Linked DNA regions of Homo sapiens: region 2 is linked to region 1. Evidence: promoter capture Hi-C in human tissues and cell types (Jung and others, 2019). All regions are on one chromosome and are shown on one strand. The core of a region is centred on a gene start or on the middle of the fragment in contact, and the rest is flanking DNA. Distances in the headings are between cores, read along the strand shown. Region 1 holds the start of IGFL2 (IGF like family member 2). Region 2 has its middle 25 kb from the start of IGFL3.

Region 1 (4,476 bases), core at 332-2,831:
AGATTTACAGTATACCAGTTCAGTTTTTGGGGAGGGGGGTATTGTAAATGGCATTTTTTTTCTTTAAATTATTGTATCCACTAGTTCTTGCCAGTATAAAGGAATACAATTGACTTCTGTGTGTTTCATACGCTACAACCTTTCTAAATTCACTTATCAGGTCCAGAACTCTTCTACTAACAATGCACTTTTATAAAGCCCTAACACCTCTCCTGATCTCTGTCTCACCCTCCCACCTATCTCACTGTGGGATGGGAAGGAAGTCAATGGAAAACACAGGAGCGCATTCTAATAATAGCCCACATGGTATCCAGTGACACAAATAATAGTGATGGTGACAATAAAATAACAGTAAGAAACACAGAAGGAGCGTTTCCTTGGACAAAGCACTCCAGAAACAACAACAAAAAGGGGCTGCCTTTCCATCTATTCTATGAATCCCAGATGTCTATTTTATCACTGTCTGTTCCTTTTCTGTTCTCCCTGGCAGGGTTTTTACAGCCCCTGCTCTTTTTCTAGATTATGCTGCATCTTCACAGTTTCCCCTAAATGACTCTGAAGAATTATAGACAGTGCTGTCTACAATTATAATAATGGATATGGTGGTCCATTTCCAAGACAAAGTACCTCAGATAGGCTGAGGCCCACAAACTATGGAAGGACAGAATATACTAGGCCCATAGCTGGTGCATGCTTGTCGGGGTCCCCTTAGTTACCCTCTCCCAAACCAGAGTTTAGTCTAGAATGAAAGTTTACTAGCCAGCAAAATAGCTCACTTTATCTATTCTTATCAGCTTGCCTGACTGCCTAGGTCATAAGTCAAATACTTGAAAAGCCCTCGAGCTGGCTTTGATTGCAATGTATTATAGGCTGCAACAAAATGCAGTGAGACAATCCTAAAGAAAACACCTAAAAGCCTCAACCCAGCAACCAATAGGCGACGTCTGGGAAGATCGTGACCCCATCGTACTTAGCCTACGAGGAACCAGGGGAGAGACTTGTGCACTAGGGGATAAATAGCTTGTTGTAACCGTACTGGGTGTGCCTGCCTACCAGACATTCAATCTTGCAAGACCATCATTAAAAGTCTTGCTTCCACTGTTTTCTGTGTCTCTGAGTCCATTCTTTGGGTTTGGACGGGTGCGTTTGTTTCTCATAGTGCAGGTCTGGAGCCGGACTGAGATGGGGAGTAGAGGGACCCCTTGAAACTTCAGGGTGGATGAATATGAAGTTTCATCACCAGCTGTGATGTTTGGTGAGTAGTATGCTCTCAGATAAGTGAGAGCCAAGGAATCTCTTTCAAGTCTCTTTGCCGTGGGCAGAGTTCAAAGAATGACACTCACTCACGGCTTTGAAAGGTTCTAGGGAAGCCTTTACTCTGAGATTTCGAGAGGTCTGAGAAGGTAGCAGTCACTTGGAACAGGTCCAGGAACATCTTACTAAGCTGTTGATGCAGTTTTTTCTTATGCTTTCTGTGGCTTCTCATGCCCCACCCTTTCCAAGAGGCCAGTGCTTCTGGGCACCTCCCTAAATGTGGATAAGTTCATAGCCTACATAAGTCCCTGTATAAAGTCACTGACCCATTTGCACTGCTGCTGTCCCATCAGCTGCTCTGAAGCTCCATGGTGCCCAGAATCTTCGGTAAGGTAACCCTTGCCCCAGGTTGAGCTAATGCCTACTGTTATCCCTAATGTACCTCTGAACCTCAAACTTAATTCTCTCTTCCCTATTTAATTCTTGGTTTCCCACCTCATAATCACCCGTGTCCTCTCTGACTGCATTGCAATCTCTCTTCCCCACCTGCAAATTCCAGAAGCTTAACCCTTTCCAGAGCCCTCCCTGCATTTCCTCACCTGCCAAGCCCAATGCCCAGAACCTGCACACAGAGTCAGTCCCAAAATCTGCTCTGAGCTGTTACAGCAACCAAAGAAACTCAGAGACATCATCTTGTGCCCCATGATCATGATCTGGTGACCCCAGAATCACTGTCATTCTTCTCTCAGCTGATCTTTATTTTTGAACTCCTGGGCTCAGACTCAGAAGGGACCATAGGTGAGAATGGGTGTGGTGAGTGGAGGGAGAAGAAAGGAGGGAGGATTATAGCACTGTGGATAGGGTTGGGGGCTCCCAGAGGTCCCCTGCCAGCTCATCAGCTCTGACTCTTCCAGATATTGGACTGTGGTTGTGCCAGTTGACACTCAGGAGTGGAGACTAGATCTGCAATCTGTTGGGACTGTGATGAGGGGATCATCCTGCCCTCGAACCAGACCCAGCCCTGTAGCCCAGGCACTATTGCCTGGAGTTCCTGGGCTCTCAGCGCCAGGAAATCATGAGGTTCAGTGTCTCAGGCATGAGGACCGACTACCCCAGGAGTGTGCTGGGTAAGTAAGGGCAGCCCAGGCAGTGGACTGAGTTTTGTTGTGTGTATTCCATCAAGATGAGCAATGCCTGCTGTGTTCACTAACTTCTTTTTGGGCAACCATCTCTCTCTCTCCCTCTCTCTCTTCTCTCTCTCTCTCTTCTCTCTCTCTTTCTCTCTCCCTCTCTTTCTCTCTCCCTCTCTTTTCTCTCTCTCCCTTTTCTCTCTCTCTCTCTTTCTCTTTCCCACTCACCCCTCACCCTTTCCACCTCTCCCCCTCTTCCCCTCTCCCCCTCCCCCTCCCCTCCCCATCTCCCTGTGTCCCTCTGTCTCACATCCCCCTCTCTTCTCTTCCCCTCTCCCCTCCCTGTCTTTTCCCTCCTCTCCTTCCTTCTCTTCCTTCCTCTCTCAAGTTGAAGGAAGAGTAGCTCAGTCATCTTCCAGAATTGCTTTTTACCTCCGAGTCACCTGGCTCCATAGCCCCCGACCACCGCATGCCCATTTAGCTGTTCCTCTCTTTCCCCTCTACCCTCACCCTTGGCAACCACCAGTCAGCTTTCTGTCTCTATGGATTTACCTATCTGGGACATTTCATATAAATGGAATCACACCATTTATAAGTGACCTTTCGTGTAACTTTTTTTTTAACTTAATGTTTTCAAGGCATATCCCCATTATAGAATTTATTAGTACTTCATTCCTTTTTACAACTGAATAAATTCAATTGTATCCATGTATCAGCATTCATTTATCCATTCATCTGTTGATGGACACTTGGGCTGTTTCCACCATTTGGCTATTGTGAATAGTGCTGTTACAAACATATGTATACATGTATTTGCTTGAGAACCTGTTTTCAGTTATCTTGGGTGTACACATAGGAGTGGAATTGCTACGCCACATGGTAATTCTGTTTAACTTTTTGAGGAATTGGCAAACTGTTTTCCACAGAGCTGCATCAATTACATTCCCACCAGCAGTGTATGAGGGCTCACATTTCTCTCCAGATTCTTCAACCTTTGTTATTTTCTATTTTCCTGTTTATTACAGTCATCTGGGTGGGTGGGTGTGATATCCTGTGTAGTTTTAATTTGCGTTTCCTTGGTAAATAACAATGCTGAGTGTCTTTTCCATGTGCTTATTGGCCATTTGTATTCCTTTTTGAGAAAAGGTTTATTCAGATTTTTCCATGTTTAAATTGGGTTATTTATTTTATTATTATTTAGTTGTAAGAGTTTTAGAAGATATGCTGGATACTCATCCCTTATCATATATATAATTTGCAAATACTTTCCTCATTATGTGGATTGTGTTCATTTCCTTGATGCTATTGCTTGCAGTGCATAGGTTTTTAATTTTTGATGAAGTCTATTCTTTCTTTTCTCTCTTGTGCTTTTGGTGTAATATCTAAGAAAATATTACCTAACTCGAGGTCATTAAGACTTACTTGTATGTTTTCTGCTAGGAATCTTTTTAAGAAGTTGACAAAGAATAATTGTGTATATTTATGGGGTAAAATATGATGATTTAATGTATGTTTGCCTTGTTAAATGATAAATCAAATTAATTACCATATCTACCACCTAATATACTTATTACTTTTTGTCACTAGAACATTTAAAATATACTCTTCAGCAATTTTGAAATATACAACACACCATTTGTTTTTTTAAGAGGCAGGGTCTCACTCTGATGCCCAGTCTGGAGTGCAGTGGTGTGATCACAGCTCACTGCACCCTCTACCTCTGAGGCTCAAGTGATCCTTCCACCTCAGCTCCCAAGTAGCTGAGACCACAGGCACGCACCACCACACCATGCTAATTTTGTTTTTCATAGAGACGATGTCTCACTGTGTTGCCCAGGCCGGTCTCCAACTTGTAGGCTCAAGCAACCCTCCTCCTTGGCCTCCCAAAGTGCTGGGATTGCAGGTATGAGCCATCACGTCCAGCCCACAATACACTATTATTTATTATAGTCACCGTGCCCTGCAGTGGATCTCTAAAACCTATCTTTCCTGTCTAACTGTAACTTCATATCATTTGCTTATCTCCCTGTTGCCCATCTGCCCACACCAATCCTCTGGTAACTGCCCTTCTCTCTACTTCTATGAGTTCAAC
Region 2 (4,646 bases), core at 1,568-4,067, 48 kb before region 1:
TCCTGGTTTAGTGTTGGAAGGGTGTATGTGTCCAGAAATTTGTCCATTTCTTCTAAATTTTCTAGTTTATTTGCGTAGAGGTGTTTATAATGTTTTTCTGATGGCTGTTTGTATTTCTGCAGGGTCAGTGGTGCTATCCTCTTTATCATTTTTTATTGTGTCTGTTTGATTCTTCTCTCTTCTTTTTTAGTCTAGCTAGCAGTCTATTGATTTTATTAATTTCTTTTCAAACCAGCTCCTAGATTCATTGATTTTTTTGGAGAGTTTTTTGTGTCTCTATCTCCTTCAGTTCCATTCTGATCTTGGTTATTTCTTGTGTTCTGTTAGCTTTGGGATTTGTTCTTGGTTTTCTAGTTCTTTTAGTTGCAATATTAGGGTGTCGATTTGAGAGCTTTCTAGCTTTCTGATGTAGGGATTTAGTGCTATAAATTTCCCTCTTAATACTGCTTTAGCTGCATCCCAGAGATTCTGGTACATTGTCTCTTGTTCTCATTGTTTTTAGAGGACTTCTTTACTTCTGTCTTAATTTCATTGTTTACCCAGGAGTCATTCAGGAGAAGGTTGTTGAATTTTCATGTAGTTATGTGGTTTTGAGTGAGTTTTTAAACCTTGAGTTCTAATTTGATTGCACTGTGGTCTGAGAGACTGTTGTGATTTCAGTTCCTTTGCATTTGCTAAAGAGTGTTTTACTTCCAATTATGAGATCAGTTTTTGAGTAAGTGCCATGTGGCACTGAGAAGAATGCTTATTCTGTTGTTTTGGGGTAGAGAGTTCTGTAGATATCTATCAGGTCCACCTGATGCAGAGCTGAGTTCAAGTCCTGAATACCCTTGTTAATTTACTGTCTTAATGATAGTCTGATATTGACAGTGGGTGTTAAAGTCTCCCGCTATTATTGTGTGGGAGTCTAAGTCTCTTTGTAGGTCTCTAAGAGCTTGTTTTATGAATTTGGGTGCTCTTGTATTGGGTGCATATATATTTAGGATTGTTAGCTTTTCTTGCTGTATTGATCCCTTTACGATTATGTAATGCCCTTCTTTGTCTTTTTTGAACCTTGCTGGTTTAAAGTCTGTTTTGTCAGAAACTAGGATTGCAACCCCTGCTTTTTCCTGCTTTTCATTTGCTTGGTAAATTTTCCTTCATCCCTTTATTTTGAGCCTATGTGTATCATTGCATGGAGATGGGCTTCTTGAATCTTGAATACAGCACACCAATGGGTCTTGACTCTTTATCCACATTGCCAATCTGTGTCTTTTTTTTTTTTTTTTTTTGAGATGGAGTCTCGTTCTGCCACCCAGGCTGGAGTGCAGTGGTATGATCTCAGCTCACTGCACTTCTGCCTCTTGGATTCAAGTGATTCTCCTGCGTCAGCCTCCCAAGTAGCTGGGACTACAGGTGCATGCCACCATGCCTGGCTAATTTTTGTATTTTTAGTAGATATGTGGTTTCACCATATTGGTCAGGCTGGTCTCGAACTTCTGACCTCAGGTGATCCACCCGCCTCGGCCTCCCAAAGTACTGGGATTACACAACATGCATGAACCACTGTGCCAGGCCCAATCTGTGTCTTTTAATTGGAGCATTTAGCCCATTTACATTTAAGGTTAATATTGTTATGTGTGTTTGATCCTGTCATCATGATGCTAGCTGGTTATTTTGCAGACTAGTTGATGCAGTTTCTTCATAGTGTCGTTGGTCTTTGTACTTCAGCATGTCTTTGCAGTGGCTGATAGTGGTTTTTCCTTTCCATATTTAGTGCTTCCTTCAGGAGCTCTTGCAAGGCAGGCCTGGTGGTGATGAATTCTCTCAGCATTTGCTTGTCTGAAAAGGATTTTATTTCTCCTTTGCTTATGAAGCTTAGTTTAGCCAAATATGAAATTCTGGGTTGGAAATTATTTTCTTTAAGAATGATGAATATTGGCCTCCACTCTCTTCTGGCTTGTAGGGTTTCTGCTGAGAGGTCCACTGTTAGTCTGATGGGCTTCCCTTTGTAGGTGACCTGGCCTTTCTCTCTGGCTGTTTTAACATTTTTTCCTTCATTACATTCTTGGAGAATCTGATGATTATGTGTCTTTGGGTTGATCTTCTCATGGAGTATCCTACTGGGATTTTCTGGATTTCCTGAATTTGAATGTTGGCCTCTCTTGCTGGGTTGGGGAAGTTCTTCTGGATGATAGCCTGAAGTGTGTTTTTCAACTTGGTTCCTTTCTCCCCATCTCTTTCATGTACTCCTATCAGTCATAGGTTTGGTCTTTTTACATAGTCTCATAGTTCTCGGAGGTTTTGTTTGCTCTTTTTCTTTCTTTCTTTTTTTTTTTTTGAGACGGAGTCTCACTCTGTCACCCAGGCTGGAGTGCAGTGGCACAATCTCAGCTCACTGCAACCTCTGCCCCCCGAGTTCAAGTGATCTCCTGCCTTAGCCTCCCAAGTAGCTGGTATTACAGGCGCCTGCCACTGCGCCTGGCTAATTTTTGTATTTTTAGTAGAAACGGGGTTTCACCATCTTATCCAGGCTGGTCTTGAACTCCTGACCTCGTGATCCACCTGCCTCAGCCTTCCAAAGTGCTGGGATTACAGGGATGAGTCACCGAGCCTGTGCTTGTTCATTCCTTTTCATTCTTTTTTTCTCAGTCTTGTCTGCTTGCCTTATTTCAGCAAGATAGTATTCAAGCTCTGATATTTATCCTTCTGCTTGATACCTGTGTTCGCATCACGAAGTTCTTGTGCTGTGTTCTTCAGCTCCATCGGGTCATTTATGTTCCTCTCTAAACTGGTTATTCTAGTTAGCAGCTCCTATGACCCTTTATCATGGTTCTTGGCTTCTTTGCATTGGGTTAAACATGCTCCTTTAGCTTAGCAAAGTTTATTACCTACTTTCTGAAGCCTTCTGTCAACTCATCCATCTCAGCCTCCACCCAGTTCTGTACCCTTGCTGGAGAGGAGTTGTGATCATTTGGAGGAGGAGAGGCACTCTGGCCTTTTCAGTTTTCAGCGTTTTTTCATTGATTCTTTCTCATCTATATGAGTTTGTCTAGTTTCAATCTTTGAGGCTGCTGACTGTTAATCAAGGAAAATGACAAGAAAAGTCTCAATCATTTTAGGAGATTTATTTGCCAAAGTTAAGGATGCACCCGGGAAACAGGTCTATGCCTTTCTCTGAAGATGATTTTAAGGGCTCCAAATTTAAAGGGGAAAGGGTGGGATATTGAGAAGTATACAGTTTTCATGCAAGTGAATCTGCATTTTTACATACAAGGACATAAAAGGGGCAGAGGAAAAATGTGGGGAATCAGCATTTTACATAAGATAACACAAACAGAATGTGGTAGGGAAACAATCAGATATGCATTAGTGTCTGTGGGCCAGGATGACAGCACCTGGAAAGATAAGCTATCAATTTGCATTGCCATGGTGAAGTTTTAACCATTCACTAGGAATATCCTTGTGGGCAAATATGGGGGAGGCATGTAGCTTTTCATCTTGTAGCCATCTTATTTAGGAACTGAAAGTGGGAGGCAAGTTTGCATGACCCAGTTCCCAGCTTGACTCTTCCTTTTAGCCAGATGCATTTGGGGTCCCAAAATTTAATTTCCTTTCAGTGTTTTTTTTCATTCATTCTTTCTCATCTTCATAAGTTTGTCTAGTTTGAGGCTGCTGACCTTTGGATGAAGTTTTTGTGGTGACTTCTTTGTTGATGCTGTTGTTGCTTTCTGTTAGTTTGTTTTTCTTTAACAGTCAGGCCCCTCTTCTGTAGGACTGCTGCAGTTTGCTGAGGGTTCACTTCAGGCCCTATTCACCTGGGTCCCTTCTGCAGCTGGAGATGTCACCCGAGGAAGCTGGAGAACAGCAAAGATGGATGCCTGCTCCTTCCTCTGGGATCTCTGTCCTCGAGGGGCACTGACCTGATGCTGGTAGGAACGCTTCTGTATAAGGTGTCTGGTGACCCCTGGTTGGTGGGGGTCTCACCCAGTCGCGGGGCACAGGATCCGGGACCCACTTAATGAAACACTCTAGTTGTCCCTTGGTGGAGGGGATGTGCTGTGCTGGGGGGAAACCCACTCATCTGGGCTGCCTGGATTCCTCAGAGCTAGTGGAGGAAAGTAAGTCTGCTGGTTTGTGAAGGCCATGGCCACCCCTCCCACTAGGGGCTCAGGCTCAGGGAGATCAGAATCTTTTCCCTAAGGCCCTGGCTGGGGTAGCTGAAGTTCCTGCAGGGAGGCCTCGCCCAGTGAGGAGGGATGGGTCAGGGTCCAGCCTAAAGAGGCAGAGTCCACAATCTGCCACAACTGGTGTGCTCCACTGTGGGGAATACCTTCTGGGTCCAAGACATCCAATCTCCCTGGCACCAGCAGGGGAAAAACGGCAGCCCCGAGCTGTAGTGATGGCTGTTGCCCTTCCCCAGTGGGGGTTCAGCCTTTTAGGCAGCCGCAGTGATGGGAGCTCAGACGTCGTAAGCAGCAGGCAGCTGCAGTTGCAGTGATGATGGCTGGCCCTCCTCCCCAGAACTCGGTAGTCTTAGGCAGACTCCGGCCCAACCGCTGTTGAGACTGTGCAGCTCTGTGGTTGGGACCTAAGGCCCTGGTGGTGTGGGCTCATGAGTGAGATCTCCTGATTCACAGGTTGCACATCCATGAAAAAAGCAGTTT

What was found. Contacts are between HindIII fragments. The study calls those that stand out against the background at their distance.
Region 2: a fragment that was not itself captured here is called in contact with the fragment with the promoter of IGFL2 in region 1 in 4 of the 25 tissues and cell types used here (H1 embryonic stem cells, dorsolateral prefrontal cortex, mesenchymal stem cells and 1 more).

What each region holds. Positions count from the first base shown.
Region 1 is chr19:46,146,657-46,151,132 of GRCh38, forward strand. It overlaps IGFL2 (IGF like family member 2), which reads left to right and starts at 1,582. Exons shown (of 4, transcript NM_001135113.2): 1 at 1,582-1,641. The coding sequence starts at 1,623. The HindIII fragment of the contact is 7,392 bases long and covers 1-3,333 here.
Region 2 is chr19:46,097,227-46,101,872 of GRCh38, forward strand. It overlaps a transcript of IGFL2 not described here. Among named protein-coding and RNA genes, the nearest start is that of IGFL3, 25 kb to the right of the region's middle. The HindIII fragment of the contact is 4,115 bases long and covers 761-4,646 here.